Regions from separate parts of the Homo sapiens genome. Here all the other regions are linked to region 2. Evidence: promoter capture Hi-C in human tissues and cell types (Jung and others, 2019). All regions are on one chromosome and are shown on one strand. Each heading gives the region's core, a stretch centred on a gene start or on the middle of the fragment in contact. The rest is flanking DNA. Distances are from core to core; before and after follow the strand shown. Region 1 overlaps CDKN2AIPNL (CDKN2A interacting protein N-terminal like). Region 2 holds the start of PCBD2 (pterin-4 alpha-carbinolamine dehydratase 2). Region 3 overlaps PITX1-AS1 (PITX1 antisense RNA 1).

Region 1 (2,700 bases), core at 124-2,623, 500 kb before region 2:
CACCCTCTAAGTATCTCACTTTTCAGGATCAGCTGAATTTCACTTAGAGTGGCATCAACAGACTAAAGTTAAACCTGGCTACTTAGAAAAACATAAGTTTTATTTGAAGGAAGTTGCAACACACAATTCAAAAATGCTATAGAAGTATGGCCTCTATATAGGCTTCTTCCACATAGCTAACTGCTAATGATTAGTAAGATGGCGGCACTGGTTTCAAGAAGATAATTTCATGCCTGAGGACTCTTCTCTGTAGACTCACACTGTGCAATGACAGTGTCAAGAATGAACATCCCAGGGCAGGGGCTCTGTACATTTTTTAGGTATAAGACCCCTTTAGGATGTTTCAGAAAGACCCTTCCTAACACACACACACACACACACACACACACACACACACACACACTTCACACTGGTCTATAGATAATGTTTGGGACGTGCCAAACCTCCTTAGTCTCCTACTGGGGTCTGCAGCCCAATGTCATTAGGTGTTCTGATCTCTAATACCCAACATGACTGGAAAGAGTTCAGATACCTTTCAGAAAACATATAAGACAGAGAAGTATAATGGAGAACTGATATAAAAAATCAGAAAACCTTGCTGGGCACAGTGGCTAACGCATGTAATCCCAGCACTTTGGGAAGCTGAGGTGGGTGGATCACCTGAGGTCAGGAGTTCGAGAACAACTTGGCCAACATGGTGAAACCTCATCTCTACTAAAAAATACAAAAAATAGCCGCGCGTGGTGGCAGGCGCCTGTAATCCCAGCTTCTTGGGACGCTGAGGCAAGGGATCGCTTAAACTCGCGAGGCAGAGGTTGCAGTGAGCTGAACCATTGCACTCCAGCCTGGGCAACAAGAGCAAAACTCCATCTCAAAAAAAAAAAAAAAGGAAAATCAGAAAACCTCTTAGAAACAAAAAGGAAAGAATCTATCACAAGCAGTTAAAAAATAAAGGCTCGGCCAGGTGCAGTGGCTCACGCCTGTAATCCTAGCACTTTGGGAAGCTGGGCAGATCACTTGAGGCCAGGAGTTCAAGACCAGCCTGGACAACATGGCAAAACCCTTTCTCTACTAAAAATACAAAAATTAGCTGGGTATGGTGGCACCCGGCTGTAATCCCAGCTACTGGGGAGGCTGTGGCGCTAGAATCACTTGAGCCTGGGAGGCAGAGGTTGCAGTGAGCTGAGATCGTGCCACTGCACTCCAGCCTGGGTGACAAAGTGAGCCTCTATCTAAAAAATAAATTAAAAATAAAGGCTCACCTCATTCCCTGCCTACCTCTGCCCCTGCCCCTGCCCCATAAGGTATACTCCAGTAGCCAGAAACTATCTAGCTCCTCCCTGGCTGGGCCCCAAGAACCTTACTATAGAACACCCAAGGACTGCCCAGTATTTTTTTAAGTATTACATGAGAAGATCCAAAAAGCCACACACTCCCAATTCACACTGCTCCCTGGCTAAAAACAGTAGCCCCTTTTTAACAGCTGATTTTAGTCCTGGTGCGGTGGCTCACACCTGTAATCCCAGCACTTTGGGAGGCCGAGGCGGGCGGATCACGAGGTCAGGAGATCGAGACCATCCTGGCTAACACGGTGAAACCCCGTCTCTACTAAAAATACAAAAAAAAAAAAAAAAAAAAAATTGGCTGGGCGTGGTGGCAGGCGCCTGTAGTCCCAGCTACTCAGGAGGCTGAGGCAGGAGAATGGTGTGAACCTGGGAGGCAGAGCTTGCAGTGAGCCCAGATCGCACCACCTCACTCCAGCCTGGGCGACACAGGGAGACTCCCTCTCAAAAACAAACAAACAAACAAACAAAAACAAAAAAACAGCTGATTTTACTTACTGATTTTTTGTCAGGAGTACTGTGTTGAGGTAACAGCTGATTTTAAAACATAATAGCATCTCGAAAACCAACCTGAAGCTTTTCCCCAGGTTCAGATTAAAACTAAAAGAATACTTTTTTAAGAAAAACAAACCATCCTGAAAATCAAGTGGGGTGTACTATTTGGGACTGAAATACTTTATGAGCAACTGAGAATCTGATTAGTTCCTTGACACCCATATGGAAGAGGACCTCTATATGTGCCCCACCTCCCAAGACAAGACCTAAATGTGGAGGAATGGGCTTACCTATGTTTCTAAGGGCAGACCTAAAAAGGGGCCAGCAGCTTTTTACTCTACTGCTTCAGTCGATTTTATAAGTATTTTCTGAGTACCTTCTCTGGGGTATAAGTATACTAGGTTTGGGAGTTGTAAAGACTAAATAGAACTTTAGACACCATCTGTAAGGTCACAACTGCTTTAAAAGAGCCCTGGATAAAGTGCCAAAGGAACTTCAGAAGATAAGCGAGCAATTAATTCTGCTGCCTGAGCAGACAAATGTGAAACAAGCATGTTTTGGAGGTGATTCTGAAAAGTATTAATAGCTGGGATGCCCAGCTCCATATTCTGAGGTTCTTTCTGCCACATTCTGTAGCCCCAGCTCCAGTGTCCAGATTCAAGACTCTAGGCAAGACTCACTGTAAAAAGCCCATCGCCTGAGATCAGACCCCAAAGGGTAGAGAACAGCTATGCCATCGACATTGCTCCAGGCACGTTCTTATCAGCAAATCACAGAAGCCAAACAAGTCAGGTCGGCACTCACACCGGCACTCACACCTGGGGTAAGGATGAGTCTTACCAATGAGATTTTTTAACAAGTA
Region 2 (2,966 bases), core at 84-2,583:
GTATTTTTAATAGAGATGGGGTTTTGCCATGTTGCCCAGGCAGATCTCGAACATCTGGCCTCAAGTGATCCTCCTGCCTTGTCCTCCCAAAGTGCTGTGATTACAGGTGCGGGCCACCATGCCTGGCCTGCTTAAACTATTCAGTTAAAAACAAACAAAAAAGAGGCCGGGCGCGGTGGCTCACGCCTGTAATCCCAGCACTTTAGGAGGCCGAGGCGGGCGGATCACGAGGTCAGGAGATTGAGGCCATCCTGGCTAACACTGTGAAACCCCGTCTCTACTAAACATACAAAAACAAAATTAGCCGGGCGTGGTGGCGGGTGACTGTAGTCCCAGCTACTCGGGAGACTAAGGCAGGAGAATGGCGTGAACCCGGGAGGCGGAGCTTGCAGTGAGCCGAGATCGCGCCACTGCACTCCAGCCTGGGCGACAGAGCGAGACTCCGTCTCAAAAAAAAAAAAAAAAAAAAAAGATACAAGTGAGTATTCTTAATAGTATGTCAATTACATCTCAAAAAAGTCAAAAAAAAAAAAAAAAAAAGAATGAAAGAATACCTCCCCAAAAATGATACAAGAAAAGATTCACCTAAATCTGTTCACAGCTGTCTGCAGAGCTCCTACTGTGTGCTGAGCCTGGGGGTAAACAGGGCACGGACACGTTTGGGAGGGGATTACAGGCCGGGTTTCCACACTTTTTGGTCCAGGCAAACCCAGACGAGCCAGCTGGCTCAAGAACTTGGCAGCTGCGTGATGACTGAACAGAGGCTGCGTTCGAACCCACTACTGCAAGACTTAGGAGCCCCCGATGGGAACTGCCGTGGTTCACTGCCCCAGCCCCGCCGCTCAACTGCCCCGCCCTGGCCTACGACATCCTCCTGCCCGCATGGACTGCGCGCAGCGCCGCCAAGCGGGGAGCCCAGCTCGGTGCTAGCGCCCGCGAAGCGGAGGAGGCCGGCGCCCGAGGCTGGGCGAAGTTCCTCCTAGCGCAGCGAGGACCGGAGGGCAAGGCCAGCGCGCGCCGGGCGACCTGCGTCCCGGGCACAGACGCGACGGGCCCGCACGGGGCGGGGACCGCGCGCGCCTGCTGGGCCTACGGCTGTGGGGCGCGCAGAGTCCACCTGGCGGCCAAGGGCGCTGGCGACCGCTGAAGCTCCTGGGGGTGTTCGGGGTCCGGGCTGCGCCTGTGCCCGCGGGAAGGCTGGGCGCTTCCCACACACAGACCCCGCTCCGGGCCAGCCCCGCAGGGAGACTACCAGGGCTGGCGGTAGCTGGGCGTGGTCGGGTCGGGGGCGGCTGTGGGCGGCCGGCAGGCAGCGCGCGGGGCAGCCCTCGGCAGACGGCCAATGGCGGCGGTGCTCGGGGCGCTCGGGGCGACGCGGCGCTTGTTGGCGGCGCTGCGAGGCCAGAGCCTAGGGCTAGCGGCCATGGTGAGTGCACAGCGGCCGCGTGGGTGGGGGTCCGGGGTCGGGGGGCGGTGCGAGGCCCGGCGGCGTCGGCTGAGGGACCAGCGGGACTGGGGCGAACCCGGCGTGGGCCGAGCCTTGGAGCTCGGGCGTCGGGTCACCGCGTCCCGGGACTGACCACCTGTCCGGTGCGCCGCTCAGAGACCGGGGTGGCCGCAGCCTCCGCCACTTGCCCTTGACTTTACACTTCCGCCGAAGCCTACGAACTTGCCAACCGGAAACAAATGGGAACGAATTTTGTTCAGCAACTACAAAAGGCAGATGTGAAAAGTAGTTGCAGAACAATTCGGTGCCCGCTGCCGCTCGTTGTGCTGAGGACGAACGGCGCTGCGGGCCTGGCTCCCTATGGCGGCTCCCTGCTCGCGCTTCACTCCAAGGGGAACCCACAGAGGTTTTGGAGGAGTTATTAATAAATTGTCTTTTTTGGTGACATATTGACTTTTCTTTCCTTTTCCAAGGGGCCGTCAGTTTTCCTGCTGTAGAAATTAATATTTTGGAGTAAATGGAGGGAAAGTTTTAACATGCAGCACCACCTAGTGGAAAAGTGGTGCGTTAAACTCACCATCTCATTTTAAGTTGCATTTTAACCGCCCATTTCAGTTTGAAATGTTTTGTTTTGTTTTGTTTTTTCGACACGGAGTCTCGCTGTATCGCCGAGCCCGGAGTGGAGTGGCGCGATCTCGGCTCACTGCAACCTCCATCTCCTGGGTTCACGCTATTCTCCTGCCTCACCCTCCCGAGTAGCTGCGATTACAGGCGCGTGCCATTTCGCCCAGGTAATTTTTTATATTTTTAGTAGAGAGGGGTTTTCGCCATGTTGGCCAGGCTAGTCTCGAACTCCTGACCTCAGGTGATCTACCTGCCTCGGCCTCCCAAAGTGCTGGGATTACAGGCGCGAGCCACTGCGCCTGGCCTGAAATTCTTTAATAGAAGAATTTTTTTTTTTTTTTTTTTTTTTTTTTGAGAAGGAGAATCACGCCGTCACCCAGGCTGGAGTGCAGTGGCGCGATCTCGGCGTATTGCAAGCTCCGCCTCCCGGGTTCACGCCATTTTCCTGCCTCAGCCTCCCGAGTAGCTGGGACAACAGGCGCCCGTCGCCACGCCCGGCTAATTTTTTTGTATTTTTAGTAGAGGCGGGGTTTCACCGTGTTAGCCAGGATGGTCTCGATCTCCTGACCTCGTCATCCACCCTCCTCGGCCTCCCAAAGTGCTGTAATAGAAGAAATTTAAAATAGCTCGAAGACGGAGGAAGATAGGCACTCCGCCGCTTCTTGTCCACGAAGGGGAGAACACAAGTTGAGTGCCTACTGTCACCTAGGCGTGTCTTCAGGCGTACTCTGCCCCAGGTGCTAGTGATCCAGTAAGATTAGGGTGTTCTGGGAAGGAATGAGTCAACAGACATGATTTGAGCGCTGCCCCATGCCAGGCTCAATGCTAGGTACCCTCACATTCAAGATCTGTAATCTAAGCCTTTCAAAAAATCTTGGCAGGTAGATATTATAAT
Region 3 (3,083 bases), core at 159-2,658, 280 kb after region 2:
CTATAAAGTCCCCACCAACACCGAATTAGCAAATACTAAACCACTGCTCCTAGGGACAATACAAAGTTAGGTTCCTGTGAGCTTCTGGTCACATTTTTGTCAACTGATCAATACATAACCTTGTTTTATGTGTGTTACTGTTTAAAGCACCTTATTTAATATATGTTGATGATTCAGAAACATCGACTTCATGGCCAGTAGCGTTGTAACTCATGCTTATCATCTAACACAGCTTGTCCAACCCGTGGCCTGCAGGCTGCATGAGGCCCAGGACAGCTTTGAATGTGGCCCAACACAAATTCATAAACTTTTTAAAAACATTATGAGATTTTTTTTGACGATTTTTTTTTAGCTCATTAGCTATCGTTAGTGTTAGTGTACTTTACGTGTGGCCCAAGACAATTCTTCTTCCAATGTGGCCCAGGGAGGCCAAAAGATTGGAAGCCCCTGCTCTAACACAACTATTTTCTCTATAAAGTACATCATGGCCTTCTTGCTCTTAGGAACATTTCACAGAAGTATTCTTGGGGGCTATTTTAAACAGCAAAACCACCAACAAAAAGAACAATAATATAAGAAAAAAGAAAAAACACATAACCCTACACACAGCAGAAAGGATACTTGTTGTCTGGGTGTGGCGGCTCATGCCTGTAATCCCAGCACTTTGGGAGGCCAAGGCAGGAGGATCATTTGAGATCAGGAGTTTGAGATCAGCCTGACCAAACATGGTGAAAAACCATCTCTACTAAAAATAGTAAAAATTAGCTGGCCCTGGTGGTGAACACCTGTAATCTCAGCTTCTCAGGGGCTGAGGCAACAGAATCCCTTGAACCTGGGAGGCGGGGGTTGCAGTGAGCCGAGATTGTACCACTGCACTCCAGCCTGGGCAACAAAAGCAAACTCCATCTTAAAAAAAAAAAAAAGAAAAAAAAAAGAAAGAAAGGACACTTGTTTACAGTATGAGCTGAGACAAGAAGGCAGAGGGTTTAACTTCAGCTGGACACTTGTACATCAGGTGACTCAGGTGTTTCAGTACTCTATGCATGTCTGCAAATGACCATGAAAGCAATCATAAGTGTTGATTTTGGAGGTTACGAATAGAATTTAGTGAGCATGGCCTAGCCCAGATGTTTGGAGGTTGTTCAAGGCTGGGAGACAGTGGACAGAGCCATTGAGCCATAGGAAACATGGAGAGCAAGGAAGCCTCCACGTGGTCCCACAGCCAGCTGCTGGCCCAGCCCTGAGCAAAGGGAGGCTGAGGACTCTGAGGCCCTAGGCTAGACTAGGGCTGAGCCTGAATGGCTTTGTCCATAGTTACCCTGATGGATTTTCCACACGGAGCACTTCAGCTGTTTATGGCAGTGTGTTTATGTGGGTGGGTTGGGGGATATTTTTATTTTTTGGACATATTTTAAACATATACATGAGAAGGAATATACCGTTGCAGGATTTTCATTTTGCGTGCCCTTCTGTATTCTGCCCCCATTGGTTTTGCAGGGGACTGGCAGAAATGGGAACGTCATTTGAATTGGTTGTGTGTGGAGTTAGGAGCCTGAGCATTCATGCAGAGGAAGGGGATGTATATGAATTCCCCAGTAGAGAATCCCCCCAGGCCTGGCTCAAGGGGGAAGGTGAGGAAGGGTGGGAGTAGGGCTGGGGAGGAGCAGAGCAGGGCACCCCCAGTCTTCTAGGGCTCTTGGCAGAATTACCTACCCCCCATGAATCTTCTAGAGGCTGACTTTGAGACCTTGGAGGGTCCCTGGTCCCCACCAGTCACCTTAGCATCCAGGTGGTGAGGCCTCCCAGTCACCACACAGCAGAGCTGGTGCTGGGGCCCGGGCCTCTGGGCTGTGGACCTGTGCGCTTTTCACATCAGCACAGTGCCACGGCTGTTCCCTCTCACAGCGGCACTTCCTTTTCCTTCTTTTGTTAGAGACTGCTGTTAGCCCCATGGAGAGGCTAAGAACTTGGGTTTTGGAGTCAGACTGCGCATGTTGGAATCTTGGCTTAGTCGCTTACTGGCTGTTCGACCCAGGACAAGTAACTTCTCTGTGTCTGTTTGCTCGTTTTAAAATAAGAAGGCTGGGCGCAGTGGCTCACAACTGTAATCCCAGCAGTTTGGGAGGCTGAGGTGGGTGGATCACCTGAGGTCAGGAGTTTGAGACCAGCCTGGCCAACATAGTGAAACCCCGTCTCTACAAAAATACAGAAATTAGCTGGGCATGATGGTGGGTGCCGGTAATCCCAGCTACTCTGGAGGCTGGGGCAGGAAAATTGCTTGAACTGGGGAGGCGGAGGTTGCAGTGAGCCAAGATCGCGCCATTGCACTCCAGTCTGGGTGACAGAGCAAGACTCTGTCTCAAAAAAAAAAAAAAAAAGAAGAAGAAGAAGAATACCTATTACTCAGGGTTGCATTGAGGATTTAACCAGTTAATAGTTTAAAACCATTTAGAACAGTCCTGGCACAAAATAAGAGCTATGTGAGTGCTTGTAAAGTAAAGAAAATGTATGAAGTTGCCGTGTGATCTGGGGTAAGTTGCCCTTAGCCTCAGGTTATTCATCTAAACAATGGGGTGGATATTGATACCTACCACAAAGGGTGGCTATGACTCAGTATGATGAAGAATGAGCTTACGATGCTTAGCACAAGGTAAGCTTTACAAAACTGTCAATGATTTGTATCATTGATATTATTATTAATTGGCAGCTGTCTCCCGGTTCAATTGGCAGTGTCTTGCCTTGAGTTCAGATGAGGGAGAGAGAAAATGCAAAGCACGAGCCAGGAGTTAGGGAGGCGAGTCGAGACTGCCGAGTCTGCATTCACAGGAGGCCAGAGGTGGCTTTTGGGCTTCCCCCTGGCAAGGACCCTGTCCCCAGACAGGTGGTGGTCTCAGGAATGAGTGGGGACCAGTTCTGTGTCCTCCAGCCACATCCTAGAGGGAACCTACCTTCCCTCTCCCAACAGGAGCCCAAGAAGCTGGTCAACAGTGCTTCCTTGGCAGAGTCTCCTGCCCAGGCGTCTGGGCAGATGTGTGGCCACAGGCTCTGCCAAGCAGGGGGAATGCCATTTGGAAGAAGTGGGT

What was found. Contacts are between HindIII fragments. The study calls those that stand out against the background at their distance.
Region 1: a contact is called between a fragment that was not itself captured here and the fragment with the promoter of PCBD2 in region 2, in 1 of the 25 tissues and cell types used here (dorsolateral prefrontal cortex).
Region 3: a contact is called between a fragment that was not itself captured here and the fragment with the promoter of PCBD2 in region 2, in 1 of the 25 tissues and cell types used here (IMR-90 fibroblasts).

The regions. Positions count from the first base shown.
Region 1 is chr5:134,406,896-134,409,595 of GRCh38, forward strand. All of the region lies in intron 2 of CDKN2AIPNL (CDKN2A interacting protein N-terminal like), which reads right to left. Among named protein-coding and RNA genes, the nearest start is that of CDKN2AIPNL, 3.6 kb to the right of the region's middle. The HindIII fragment of the contact is 4,343 bases long and covers 1-2,700 here.
Region 2 is chr5:134,903,798-134,906,763 of GRCh38, forward strand. PCBD2 (pterin-4 alpha-carbinolamine dehydratase 2) reads left to right here and starts at 1,334. Exons shown (of 4, transcript NM_032151.5): 1 at 1,334-1,426. The coding sequence starts at 1,343. RefSeq lists a silencer at 890-1,649 and enhancers at 1,247-1,831, 1,832-2,417. The HindIII fragment of the contact is 17,365 bases long and covers 1-2,966 here.
Region 3 is chr5:135,181,082-135,184,164 of GRCh38, forward strand. All of the region lies in intron 3 of PITX1-AS1 (PITX1 antisense RNA 1), which reads left to right. Among named protein-coding and RNA genes, the nearest start is that of LINC02900, 66 kb to the right of the region's middle. The HindIII fragment of the contact is 5,242 bases long and covers 1-3,083 here.